Regions from separate parts of the Homo sapiens genome. Here region 2 is linked to region 1. Evidence: promoter capture Hi-C in human tissues and cell types (Jung and others, 2019). All regions are on one chromosome and are shown on one strand. The core of a region is centred on a gene start or on the middle of the fragment in contact, and the rest is flanking DNA. Distances in the headings are between cores, read along the strand shown. Region 1 holds the start of ALX1 (ALX homeobox 1). Region 2 overlaps LRRIQ1 (leucine rich repeats and IQ motif containing 1).

The links. The method cuts DNA at HindIII sites, captures the fragments that hold promoters and counts their contacts. A contact is called where the count stands out against the background at its distance.
Region 2: a contact is called between a fragment that was not itself captured here and the fragment with the promoter of ALX1 in region 1, in 8 of the 25 tissues and cell types used here (H1 embryonic stem cells, adrenal gland, liver and 5 more).

The regions. Positions count from the first base shown.
Region 1 is chr12:85,277,777-85,284,527 of GRCh38, reverse strand. It overlaps ALX1 (ALX homeobox 1), which reads right to left and starts at 4,308. Exons shown (of 4, transcript NM_006982.3): 1 at 4,041-4,308; 2 at 652-956. The coding sequence starts at 4,266. RefSeq lists a silencer at 3,923-4,217. The HindIII fragment of the contact is 12,363 bases long and covers 1-6,751 here.
Region 2 is chr12:85,240,088-85,246,838 of GRCh38, reverse strand. It overlaps LRRIQ1 (leucine rich repeats and IQ motif containing 1), which reads right to left. Exons shown (of 27, transcript NM_001079910.2): 27 at 1,734-2,050. The coding sequence ends at 1,898. Among named protein-coding and RNA genes, the nearest start is that of ALX1, 37 kb to the left of the region's middle. The HindIII fragment of the contact is 9,323 bases long and covers 1-6,751 here.

The DNA of each region.
Region 1 (6,751 bases), core at 3,059-5,558:
GCCTATGCAAAATTCATATGATTTATCTAGACTTTAACCATTATAATGGAATATTTACATGTTGACAACTACTAGGACTATAAAATTGTAAATGAGCACTATTTGATCTTGTTTTTAATTATCCATAGTGAAAACATTCCATGGTATACATAACAATTGGGAATTTGTGGGATTGTTTTTTTTTTTATTATGCCTCCAAATCTAGAAATTTCTAGATGTATGGGCTATTATACAAATAATTTACAAATACCTGATATATAATCTAAAAAAGAACCTTAGTGGCTAATAAAACCGAAAAAAAAAAAACAAATAAATATACCAATTACTAAATAGTCATGATTCTGCTTTTCATCCTTTAAAAACTGCTTTTGAAAATCAGAGATATATTATCATATTGTTATGTTTGAATGATTGTTAATTTTTATGTCTCTGTAATAACTTGTGTTCTTTTGTTTTACATATTGCGTGAGTTGTCAAAATTTTTGCAATTAAAAAATAATTTTAGTAGACATATATTCATATATATTACTCCGTTTCTCATCTTCAGCTAGGGAATCAGTTTGTTTCTTTGTGGCAAAATGCACTTATTCAATTATTCTAACACCATTTATTTTCCTATCCCATCCATCAAGGCCTCTTTTTGGCTCCTACCTGGACCCTGGCCTCAGTGAGCTCTGTCCTCAGAGCAAGCTGTTCTCTGACATACACATCCGGGTAATGAGTTTTCTGAAAGACTTTCTCCAGCTCCTCTAGCTGCAAACTGGTGAAGGTGGTTCGGTGCCTCCGTTTCTTACTGCTGGATACATTGCTATCACATTTATCCCCAAGTTCATCCAGCTCTCCCTTCTCTTGCATCCCTTTCACGGGAGACATTCGGAGACTGTTACAGTTGTCCATAGCTCTATTCAGTTCGGTGTGAAGGGGCTGTCCTTCTACTTTAGTGATCCCATAGTTCACTGTACCCAGAGGAGGAAAAACAACAGTTCTCAGGATTGTGAAACTCATCTCAATTAAATCAATAAGTAGAAGTAATTGAGAGTATCAAGAAATTGGCCTATTAATAATTTATTGTGCTAGTATTAATTCAATTACCACATTTCTATACTTAATTCATTGTAGGACAGGTTTAAATACCATTTTAAAATGTGTTCATGCAACTGCTATGATCTGCCAAAATCCGCAGTTCTATTTTACAGGATTTATAAGTTTATGCACATGTTTTTTACTTAAATTCATGTACTCGAATTAAAAGATGATCTGGGTGTTTCATGAAAGAAACTTTAAGTGTCCATGATTTTTGAAAACTGAAGCAAATTTAATGTCATGTGTTTTATTCACAGCAGATAAAACCAAGCTACTAATGTGGCTCAGAAAATATATTTTAATCTTAAATAATACCTCTGTACTAATATCTGAAAGTTATTATCCTCCTCCACGTAAAACGTACTGATGATAGATTTCAGATGTGACATTATTTCCACTAAATTTTGAATATTTCAACTTTATATCCATGTCTGCATTTACACTTTTTCTTCAAAAATAATCTACTAAATTGACAAAATAAATTTCATGCCAAATTTTGAATACGCTTTCTATCGGAAATTAGATTTAAGCAGCATTTTTTTTTTTTACCTAAAAACTTACGCAGTTCTTTTTAAAACATTTCATATTTCTGCTTAGCTAGTTAGATAAGTTTTGGGATTGAAAACTTTTCTATTTTCTCTGCTGAAACACAGAAATTAAAACAGCTATTAAAACATTACAGAGCATGACATCTGGCATTCTGTTAAGGGATGTTTAATTTCAGTAATTTTCTTCAGATTTGATTGCATGCTTGCAGTGTGATATAAAACAAAGATATATCATATAATGCCAAACACCCACAAATGCAATGGATGCACATAGTGAAATGGGAAGCACTTTTTAAAAAGTAAAGTCAAACCAGCCAGAATAATAATTTCCAATAGATGATCATACTTTTTTCATTTGTTTCTTTTTTTAAAATTACCCCCATAATGTATTTTTACAACTCTTTTCATCATTATACAAATATATTCAAGTTTAATGCGCATATAACTTCAATAGCTAATAATTGAGTACTGTGCATTTCAATGTCACTAACGGAGTAACTCTCAAAAATGTTCTCATAATAAAAAATGTCAAATATTTGAGGTGATGGCCAATTAACGTAATTTAATCATTCCACATTGCATTAAAAAAACTTAACATTACTTTGTACCCCATAAATATATACAACTATAATTTGTCTATATATATATATAACAAATTTTTTAAATTAACGGTTTTCATGCAAACGAAGATGTGATGTTAAACCAAATATAAAGAAGAGCCATGACTGATTAACAAACGGTTCTATCTCCTTGGGCAAAATTAAAGGGGGAACTGCAGCAATTAGGGATGGGGGAGGGGAAGCATCAGAGAGGCTAAGGGCATCTCAAGAGAAAGACAGGATCTCTCCTAAATTAAGCGGATGACTGCCTATGTTCATCTTCCTTAACACTTCTTTGTTATAATTCATCTTAATAGTGTGATATTTGTTTAAAAGTTGATAACGCATCAATTATGTCTCTTATTTTGGATTCTCGACTATTCAAAATAAAATATTATGATCAAGTCCATCCAGAGTCAATACAAGACATTGCAGAATCATTAAAGAAAGACCTGTCAATTCAAATAACGTTAGGCATGCACCTAAGAATTCCACAAATACAGATACCAGGTCTGAAACGCAGCCAGAAAACCAACAACTCAGTGTAAGAATAACAAAAAGTATACGCTCGAATCTTTCTAAATAAATGACTGAAACGACTTAGCTGATTATTTTCTCTATCATTTGCACCTTTATTTTTGATTTACCCTTAGTCAAAAGTTACTTGCAACGTTAAATAAAATTAGTTAAATATGAGATTAATAAAAGAAAAAAACTTGTGTTCAAAATATTTAGAAAATGAGCTTCTACAGGCCAGTGTTTTGTCAGATTTTGAATTTCTATAAAATAGGGGGCAGGGGGCTTGTTGTAAATATTTCACACTTAATTCGTTTGTTATTTTAAAGCAACCCGCCCCTTATAGCTTAACTGTGGAATATATACAATGATAAGGAGAAGTTCTCTTGGAATTGTAAACGTGCTTTAGCTGTCGCGATCTGAAATAATAGGTTAGTATTAGGTTACAAGATAGAAAAGATAGATGGTTTGTTTTGATAACATTTTGACTTGGAGATACTTGGGCATTCAAAGTTGAAGATTTCACCCAGAAGCATTCCAAAGACTCCTTAGGTGACTTTTAATGTGAAGTCATAAAAATACAAAACGTAGAATCTGGGAATGAGTGATTAGGCCGGGGATGGTTTGCCCGAAGCTATTTAGTGTGCTTTAGTGTTTAACAAACATTCAACGCGTGTTGTATTGCAAACGCAAAAAAAAGCAGAAATTACAAATTCACACACGCTAGAAATCTAGGGATCCTCAAACTTTGAAAATATATCGCCACGTCTTGGAAAATTAAAAAGATTTATCTTTACCTAAAGGAGCTCAAAGGGTTTTTTGTTTTTTGTTTTTGTTTTCCGGTTTTTTTTTCCCTACTCGTGACGACAGTGACGTACTCTAACGAGCTGTGATCGATTTCAGTTCCTACCGCCCGGACTGCAAGGCGGGCTCGCAGAGGAAGCGTTCTGTCTTGACTCAATTACGCTCTATTTAGCGCCCTATCAGTTTACTCCAGGAACCAATATTACAGAAGGACTCAGGGATCCGTAGGCGACCAGACCCTACAGCGAAAGGAGAATCGCTCAGAGGCAACCCGGTGCTGGATCTCTCCCTCCCTCCGCCCTCCGCCCCCAAAGGCTGCAGCAGCAGTAACACCGCTTCATAAAGCGAGCACCTTCCACTACCTTCCTCCACCTTCCAGGTCCCTCGCTCCCACTTTTCTCCTTTCTCCCTCCCTGCCTGATCAGACCGATCCTGCATTTTCGATTGCGGAAGGGCTGCGGCGGCTCCGGCTGGGGCGCTAGCGACTCACCGCTGCTGTCCTGACAGGGCGAGGTCCTCTCCAAGCGCACGTGATGCTCGGCGCGGGGCAGGGGTCCGAAGGCCTGCACGCATTTGCCTGCAGACGCTTTGCTGTAAAAGGACTCATTGTCCAGCGTCTCCATAACGTGCTCCAGAGGACCTCCTGCGCCCATGTAAAAGTCACTGTTTTTACTCGGAGGGCTCTTGAGGGCAAACTTCTCGCTCAGAAACTCCATAATCCTGGAAGACTGTCGCGTAGCTCCTGGGGCACAGAAACTGGAGAGCGCTGGGGGAGGGAGCCAGTGGGTGGGAGGAGGGAGGGCCAGAGAGGAGGGAAGGGAAAGCGAGCGCTGCGGCGTCGGGAACTGCCCCGCTCCGGTCCCTTTAATACGTCCCGGCTGGAAAAGGAGCACCCGAAGTTGCTTTTATATCTTGAAACTCAGCTGGCCTCCTCGGGCAGCCTCCCAGTTCTAATGAATATGAAAATAGGCGGGCGACTAACTCCACCCCAGGTCCCCCTCCGCCCCTACCCCACCCCCATTTTCCCCACTTACCCGGGCAGAGGGCGTCCAGGCCTAGGATAGACAGACAGACAGCTCCATTTCAGACAAATGCCAGGAGAGACGAGCCCCTGACACCCAGATTCATTGCCGCCGTGACAGTGGACTGGCATTTCGGAAGATCTTGGTGAGATCGCAAAGCAGTTAAACCTCCACTCCCTACTGCCTGCGCCTTCCTGAGCCACCCGTCCCCACCCCGCCCCCATGCCGGCCACTCACTACCAGAAAGATTTAGAGGCGTCTTAAGAACTTGAAAGGAAATATTGCTCTAAAAGGCTTTTATTTCATCCGTAAATCGTTTACGTGGAAGATTCACATTAATCCGAAGCCCAAGGAACCAGATGCATTGGCAACTGTTAATCGCAGCCGCCGTAGTAGAGGGGCCGCTTCGGCTTCTAACCGGGAGGAGCTCGGGGTCCGGGCCAGCTGGGAGCTTTACGAGGCCGTGGCCTTTTCTTTTTCTCTGGAATGCGGCGGAGTGTGGACGCGGTGGCGATGGGTGGGAGAGAGAAGCCGAGCAAGAGGCAATGAAGCCATTATACTAATGCCAACCAATTCCCTACACCCTCTTCGCCACCCTTCCCTTTGGTCCACGATTTTATCATTAGACCCAAATTATTTTAAGAAAACCCGTTAGGATCAGTGCCTTTGAAAGGCTTTTACTCTAATGCCAAAGTGAGGATTGTTACAAATAGGGGTTTATGAAGAAGAGGAATGTCTGCATATTTTTACAGAAATTACTTTTAATTTTAAAGAGTTGCTGTGGAGTTACTCCGAAAAGCGCTCTGGGAGTGAGTGGTGAGCGCGCGGAGCTGCGGGCACTCGCGGCGCGGCGTCCTGGGCGCGGACAGGTCCAAGGCCTCCATTTCCACCAGAGGGGATGGTAGGGCAGGCAGGACAGCACTGCTAGGTTGAAAGCCCTTCTGTGTGACTTTTGGCACGACTCTTGGCTTCCTAGGAGCCCGCGGCGCTTGGGGGAAATGCGTTCGGTGCCCTGGGCACAAAATCGCATTTGCGTCAGGCACCCTAAGCTAGCAAATTTGGTGAAAATAAGCCAGACAGGTTTTGGTCCAGGTAGGCCTCTGCTTAGACGTCCTGACACAGCCTTTGTCAACACTGGCACTCACAGCGGCCGTCGCGTTTCCCCAGACAAGTCTGGCAATTATGGTGAGGCCTCGGGCAGGCCGAGCAGCCCGGACTCTGAGGATGGTGAGGCCAAGCCCAGCTGTGGTGGGCATGCTGATGGGTTTGAGAGTTTCCACCTTCTGCGGGGGTCTTAGCTGACCCACGCCTCTTTGGTGAGACCTTCTTCGAGACCTGACCAGGCCTCAGCCAGAGAGTAACAATCAGGGAGGGCTGTGCACCCCGGAGCTGCTCCTTAGCGTTGCGCGAAAGGCAGGGTCGGCCTTAAGCACCCAGATCCGACCGGCGGATCCCGAGCAGATCAGCTGGCAGCAGCAGCCTTGCTCGCCCGGCCAAAGTCCAACCCAGACTGTTCTCCCAAGGAGGCGCACAAGCTTAGTTCACATGGCGCAGCGCTCAGTGTGGCCTTGAGCGCGCACTCAGATTCAGGCAAGTGGACACTATTCCTGGGACTAACTAGCTTCTGCTGTATTATTATTACTCTCTCCAGAGCAGTGCTGCAAGAACCAACTGCAGATTGTTAAATTTCAGGGGAGCAAGGTCAAAGAAAAGCACTAGGGACTGAGCTTCAGCAGGAAGCCAGGCTGCGTCGGGCCGCAGGAACTCCAAACCAGACAACCTGGCATTCTGAGGTCAGGCCCAGGGGGAGAGAGTGAGGTGTCGGAAGAAGCCATTGAAACGCTCTTCTTAAAGTGTCCTGTAGCATCCCGACCTTGCGTGAGCAGTAGCCTCAGCTCTGCGTTCTTTGGACACTTTCCAGCGGGCCCCCGGGCAGCCTTGTGGAAACGTTGAGTGTTGCGTTATTCACTCACTCCTGTTGGGTTAGCCATTTTCGATTCTTTCCTATCCCCTTCGGTACCTTCTTATTTTCAGGTATCCTGAAAGTCTGACTTTCTCTACTAAACACGGGAAAGATAAGAAAATGGTCGTTTAATATGTTTTACAAAAATTCACAGCAGCAACAACAACACCTATTGCTGACTTGAGGAAATATACAAACTAGTTATCAACCAAGTTA
Region 2 (6,751 bases), core at 2,601-5,100, 37 kb after region 1:
AGTGATTAAGCAAGTAGTATTTGATTCATAATCATTTTATTATTTTTTTAAAACTCTACTCTTCTAAAGTAGTTTGCCTTAAATTGTTGCTTATTAACACATTCAGAGATTAGTAGTGTTTTCAGTAATATTATTTGTTGACAAGTAGTTGGAATTACAGTGAGAATTGCATTATTTCAGCTTCTTGGAGAATGTGTTAAAATGAACTCTATATAATTATATCTCTAAAATCCATAATTAAATATCATGTAAGTGAATGATGAAACTTGCATATTTGAAACTAGTTGCTGATTTATTGAGCTATTCATGTGCTAACATTCAGGTAATACATTATAAACAGAAGTTTTGAAATTCTAAAGTGAAAAAGCAATTTTTTGTTTTTGTTTTTAATTTGCTTATTTCTTACCTACAATGCTCCAAAGTGATATCATATGAGTTTGTAATATGCAATGCGTAAAATTATCATTATTTATTAATATATATTGACACAGGCTGATTACTTCTGAAATGGAATAAAGATTTTGAAATTTGATAAAGTTAGTACATTATGTTAAAAACTAAAAAGTTTACATTAGGTGAATAATTTAAACTTAAAATATTTATTTCTTAACTATATTGACTAGGGCAACATTTCAATGACCAGATTCTATAATCATGTAAGAAAACTTCAAGCTCTCCAGGGTTTTTGAAACTTGGAAAATATTTCAAAATTAGATGTATTAAAATTATTATTTCAAAAGTAAATTAAAATTTATCAAAATGAACTTGCATGTATTAATAAATATAAATGATTATAATCTAATAAAGCCAAGTACTTGGATGAAAAGTGAAAGTCAGATAATCATTTTGAAGTTTTCATTTATCCGGAGAGCACAATCTGGATCACTGAATTTTTCACTTTCAATCAAATATTGATTTTGTATTGTGTGTGTGTGTGAGTCTCTCTCTCTATATATATATGTATATATGTAACTATAATACCAGTGAGTAATACAACTCTTTCAAAAATAATAATTATAATTAAGTATAAAGACTTAATTACGATTAAATCTTGAGTTTCACTATATATTGGGGAAATTAACAAAATGTAATATTAAGCAAAATATCTTTTATACTAATGTATTGTCACATTTTAGAAGAGATCTCAAACTCTCTAGGGTTAAATAAGGACTTTGAAAGAAATCGCTCTTGATTCCCGTGAAATACCACAAGATACAGCTATTTTTTAAATGTTTACATTTTTCAGAGTTAATAATTGCAATATAATTCTTGTTGAAATCATTATTTTTATATTCTTTCTCTACATATATATAACAAATATGTTATATAAATGTATTATATATTTAATATATATGTATATTTCTCACCAAGTTAAAGGTAATAGATGTGTGTGACAGGTTTATGAATTAAGAGTCATCATTAATAGACATAATCAAACTCTTACATATGCAATGGAAATAGTTTTTGAAAGCATGCTTTCTGATAGTATAATATTATTTAAAGCTCTTCTATTTAAAAAAATTATCTTTGGAAATTATCTTTACATACAGTATCTATTAAATCAATGGTAAAAGGCCAAGACACACTACTTTCATATATAAATCTAACATCTTACAATTAGTCTAAAAAATTCTTTTAGAATTAAATGATCAAAGAATTCAATATGATTCACAGGGTGTGGGGGGCAGGAGATATTGAAGCCCCAAATACAATTAAAATAAAAACTGATGCAGTTAATTTTAGAAATAATTTAATTTTGTTTATATCAAAAGAGGATATTTAAAGAAAGAAAAAATTTAAATACACATTTTTGGGCAGTTCAGGTTGCTGGCATCCTACCCCCTATCTGAAAAAGAATGCTTGTTGGCATTAGGTTCCATCAATTCGTTTGTGATTTCTAAATTAATTTTGAAGGAAACCACAACTTACTTGAAGATCCTGCTGAGTGTCTGTGTGCCTGATTTTTTTTTTCTCTGTTCACAGACAAAGCACTTCCATTGGTCATGGAAAAAAGGTCTAAATCCGTGTCTTCTCTGCTTACAAGTCTTGCCTGGGAGCAATGGAAGAGAATGTATACAATCATGAAACAAAATATGGCATTTTCTGAATGCAGCTCACATTACCCCAAATAAACAAACAGGCTCTGTCAAACAACCTTCTTCAAAATGATACCACAATCCTTTATTGCTGCCCAGGCAGAACAAATGCACTATGTCAAAGCATTTTTTGCAAATAAGAGTCGATTGTAAAATTGAGGATTGCTATTTGAGTCTGTACAACAAAAGAAAACATTTTAGTACAGTAATTTTGATGAAAATCAATATCAAAGGTAGCTGATGAAACTTTAAAGAGCTTAACATTATTTATTTGCCAAGTATATTATTTAATTTTTAATTGAATGTTAGACATGTCATATGGGGTTATTTTTTGCAAAAATTATATGTTGCCACTTATATGTATTAGTCTTATCAATAAAATTCTCTGAAATGCCTTTCACCCTATGCTTGCATACAATTAAGCTACAGACCATCTTTACCTTCTCATTAAAGCCATTATCAATATAAAAATATATTTAATACTAATTTTGGGATAATTATAAATATATAGATATTTCAGGACATTATTTAATGAACATAAAAATTATTTATTTTATCTCAAATTGCCTTTGAATTTGTATTACTTAGACCGAATCTAAGTGCCAAAAATAATTGCTTCTTACCTATAAAACAGTGTTGTACATAATGTTGAATATCATTACATAAAGATACATTAGGATTCAGTTCTGAAATAGGGGGAAATGCCATGAGGGAAAGCAAAGCAGCCTCAGAGTAGCTGGGATTTAACCAAAACCACACTATGCTTGAAATCCTGTGAAAATGCATTGTTCTTAATGTTTGATGTTAGGAAAACTTAAATATAGCAAAATAAAAGCATAAAACCACCACTGTGGTTAAAAAGCTGTCTCCATAAGATGAGCCACAAAGACTCAAGGAGCTAGTATCCAAAAATGACCCTCTTTAAAATTCAGATATTTGCCCTTCACCTTTACATCCCCCTCCCACCTTCTTCCTACTTTTAAACATATGAACTTACATTTATTTATTTATTTTAATATACTTCTATTTTTCCAAATTTATTTATATTTTCCCTGTTTATTTGGTCTTAATTGACAAACAAAAATTGTATACATGTATCATGTACAACACAATGTTTTAAAATATATATATACACTGTGGAATGGCTAAATTGAGCAAATTAACATATGTATTGCCTCACATACTATTTTTAAGTAAGCAAGTATTGCTCTTGCTGAGTTCAGAATATAAACCATTGTATAATGTCAATCATTCTTAATGTAACTGGCTAAGTAATATAATGACATTGTCAAAAAACCTCGGTAGAAAACATTAAAATAAAATAAATAAAAATCGTTTCCAATTTATACTTGTGATTTATATGTGCACAGGTACCCTAAAACTTAAAGTATAATAATAATAATAATAATAATAATAATAATAATAATAAAAGTTATACATTATTTTTGAAATGTATTTCAATAGTATCCAAGAGTACATGTCTAACATTAGAATAGCTGCATTAGAAAAGTTCCATCAATGGTAAACCTTAAAAAAAAAAACAGTCAAAAGTTAAGGGGAAATATCAAAGCAATACCACAATTTTGGAGAGGCTACTTAGGTAACAAGAAAAAACATGTGAACCACATAAGGGACCCTCCTGAAGACTAAAGAGGCTTTAAGATTATAAGCCTTAATATTGTAAAATGAGGTTTATTTATTTAAATGTAATGACATAATTTCACTACACCTATTTAGAAAGTAGAATTCCCACTCTCCCCTAAATAAGACAAAACCTACAGTCAAGAAAATATTTGTAAATAAACACCTTCCAAAAAATTTATTATCATCTAAGTAATTAACATCCAAAGATGATTTTTTCCAAAGTAGAAAATAACTAGTGTCAGTTACTAATTTGGTCAATTACATAGGAAATAAACTTTAGAAGTAAAATTACTGGAAACACATGGCTTCACAATGATGCCATTTAGCAGCTTAAAAGCAAACCTAGAAATTTCATAAATGGGCTAGTTAAATGTCTTTCAGTGAATCTGGCACAGCGATATGCAACAATATTTAGATCTTATTTTTGAAAACATTGGCTTCCCAACTAAACATCATTCTCTGCTTAGTGTTAAAAAATAGAGAAATGGTAAAGAAGATACAGATTTTCTTCAATGTCATGTAAATTGTATATACAGTCGTTCCTCAGTATTTGTGGGGATTTGTTTCAGGACTTCCACAGATAACAAAATCCATGGATGCTCATGTCCCTTATATAAAATGGAGAATTATTTGCATATAACCTATGCATATTCTCCCTTCTATTTTAAATAATCTCTAGATTACTTCTAATACCTAAATAAATGTAAATGCTACATAAATAGTTGTTATACTCTATTGTTTTTTTATTTGTATCATTTTTATTGTTGTATTGTTATTTTTTGTTTGTTTGAATATTTTCAATCCAGAGTTGGTTGACAGATATGGAGGGCCAACTTAACCTGAAGATAACTGATCACACATTCGACATTTATTCTACAAAAACGTATGTTGGATTCCAAAATAGTGCAATATTTTTTATGGTTATAATATAATAATCTCAAGTTAATGTCAGATAAGAATTTTCTCACATACAACATAATGGCAAATACTTATTAGACTGTAATTTTGCAAAATTCTTTTAGGTCTTTGTTTTTGGAACGGATCTCTTTTATCGCCCTACCTACAAGGTTTGTAATTGCCGCTCTCCCCACTTCCGCCCTATAATTTCACAATGAAATGACGGATGTACATTTTGGGACAGGACTTTCCAAGCATTTGGATTCTGATTCACCTCCAACTTTGGCAACTTAATTAAAAAAGAGATTCTCTCTCATATATTAAACAAGAGGGATTTCCTCTTCTTCTACATTTTTTTCATAAACAAGATTTTATTAATTATTAATTTTAAAAGTATTGTCTTTTTGGAAGTGAAGATATACAAAACAGCACACATAAAAACAAATGTCTATGTACTTATTACCCAGATATTTCTTTATAAAGGGAGAAAGCGAGTTTTATAAAGATGAAGTCCCCTTACATGCTACTTTGTTTTTCTACATATGTATCAAACATTTTAGAGTATTATTTCAAAATTAACATAAATGATATATTTTCTGCTGCTTGCTTTTTTCACTGTACATTATATATGTGAGATCTAGATTTAGTTCATTTATTTTAACTGTTAGAATAATTTGCAAATTATGGCAAAATTACAATATATACTATAAATATATCACATAATTATTTGTAATATATCTAGACATATGAGTGATTTTAAAAGCTTTTTAACTTCATGTAAAGAAAATGAATTATGCATACTCCTAAATTCATAATACATCATCTTTTCATAAACTCCTTTTCTTATGTAATAAGACAGATGTCTTGTTATATAACATATGTGGGTAGGGAAGGCACTTTAAATATTTAAAAGACATAATGTACATGCCGTAAAGTGCAAAGACCTTAAACATGAAGTTCAACTCCCATAGAAGTTTAAAACTCCCATAGAAGTTACAAAATATAGCAATGAGTTCCCTATGCACCCTACACCCAGCATGCCTCAATGACAACATTTCACATAACCAAATCATGATCAACAAAACCAGAAAACTGACACTGTATCAATACTATTACTAAACTACTGACCTTATTAGGACTTCGCTAGCTTTCACATGCCCTAATTTTTTCTTGTTTGCAGTTCTATGACATTTTATCATATGTATAAATTATGCATACATATATGTATAGATTATGTATTGTATTAATATGTATAGATTCAACTATTATCACAATTAGGACACAAATCTATTCCGTCTTCCCAAAGAAACTCTGTTGTTCTCCTTTATAGTCACATCCTTTCCCCAATCTAAGCATGGCAACTAATCACGTTTTCTCTATTACTATAATTACGTGATGCTTAAGGATCTTATATTAATGAAATAATACAGCATGTAATCTTTTGAGATTAGCCCTTTTTAACTCAACATAATGTTCTTGAGATCGATGGAAATATTTGTATATGTCAACAGCTTTCTTGTTTATTGCTTTTTAATTGTGTGTTGTATATCCACTGTATGTATGTACCATCATTTCTTTATTATTTTACCCATTCAATGAGATTTGAGTTGTGTTAAGTTTTGGCTATTACAAATAACACTGCTATGAAAGTTTATGTACAGTTTTTTGTTTGAATGAAAGTCCACTTCTCTAGGAAAAATGCTCAAAGGAAGAATAATTAGGTCGTATGTTAAGTGTATATTTAACTTTATAAGAAGCTTATAAAGCTTCTGAATGTACCAGAGTCTTTACAAGCTTATAAAGCTTATAAAGTTTTTTTCTCCAGAGTGGCTGTACCATTTTCACCAGCAATGCATGAGAGATACAGTTGCTCTGCATACTTGTCAACATTTGATAATTTCAGTATTTTTTATTTTAACCACTTTAATGGGGTAGAGTGGTATTATATAGTGGCTTTAATTATTTCTCTAAGTGAACACGTTTTCATTTGCTTTTGACAGAAATAAAGAGTATGAATGTTTCTCCGATAATGTGGTTTGACTTTTCATTTCTGTTTATTTTCTGAATTGTGTCTTCGTAAGGGCAAATGCTTTTAAATATGAACTATAATTGAT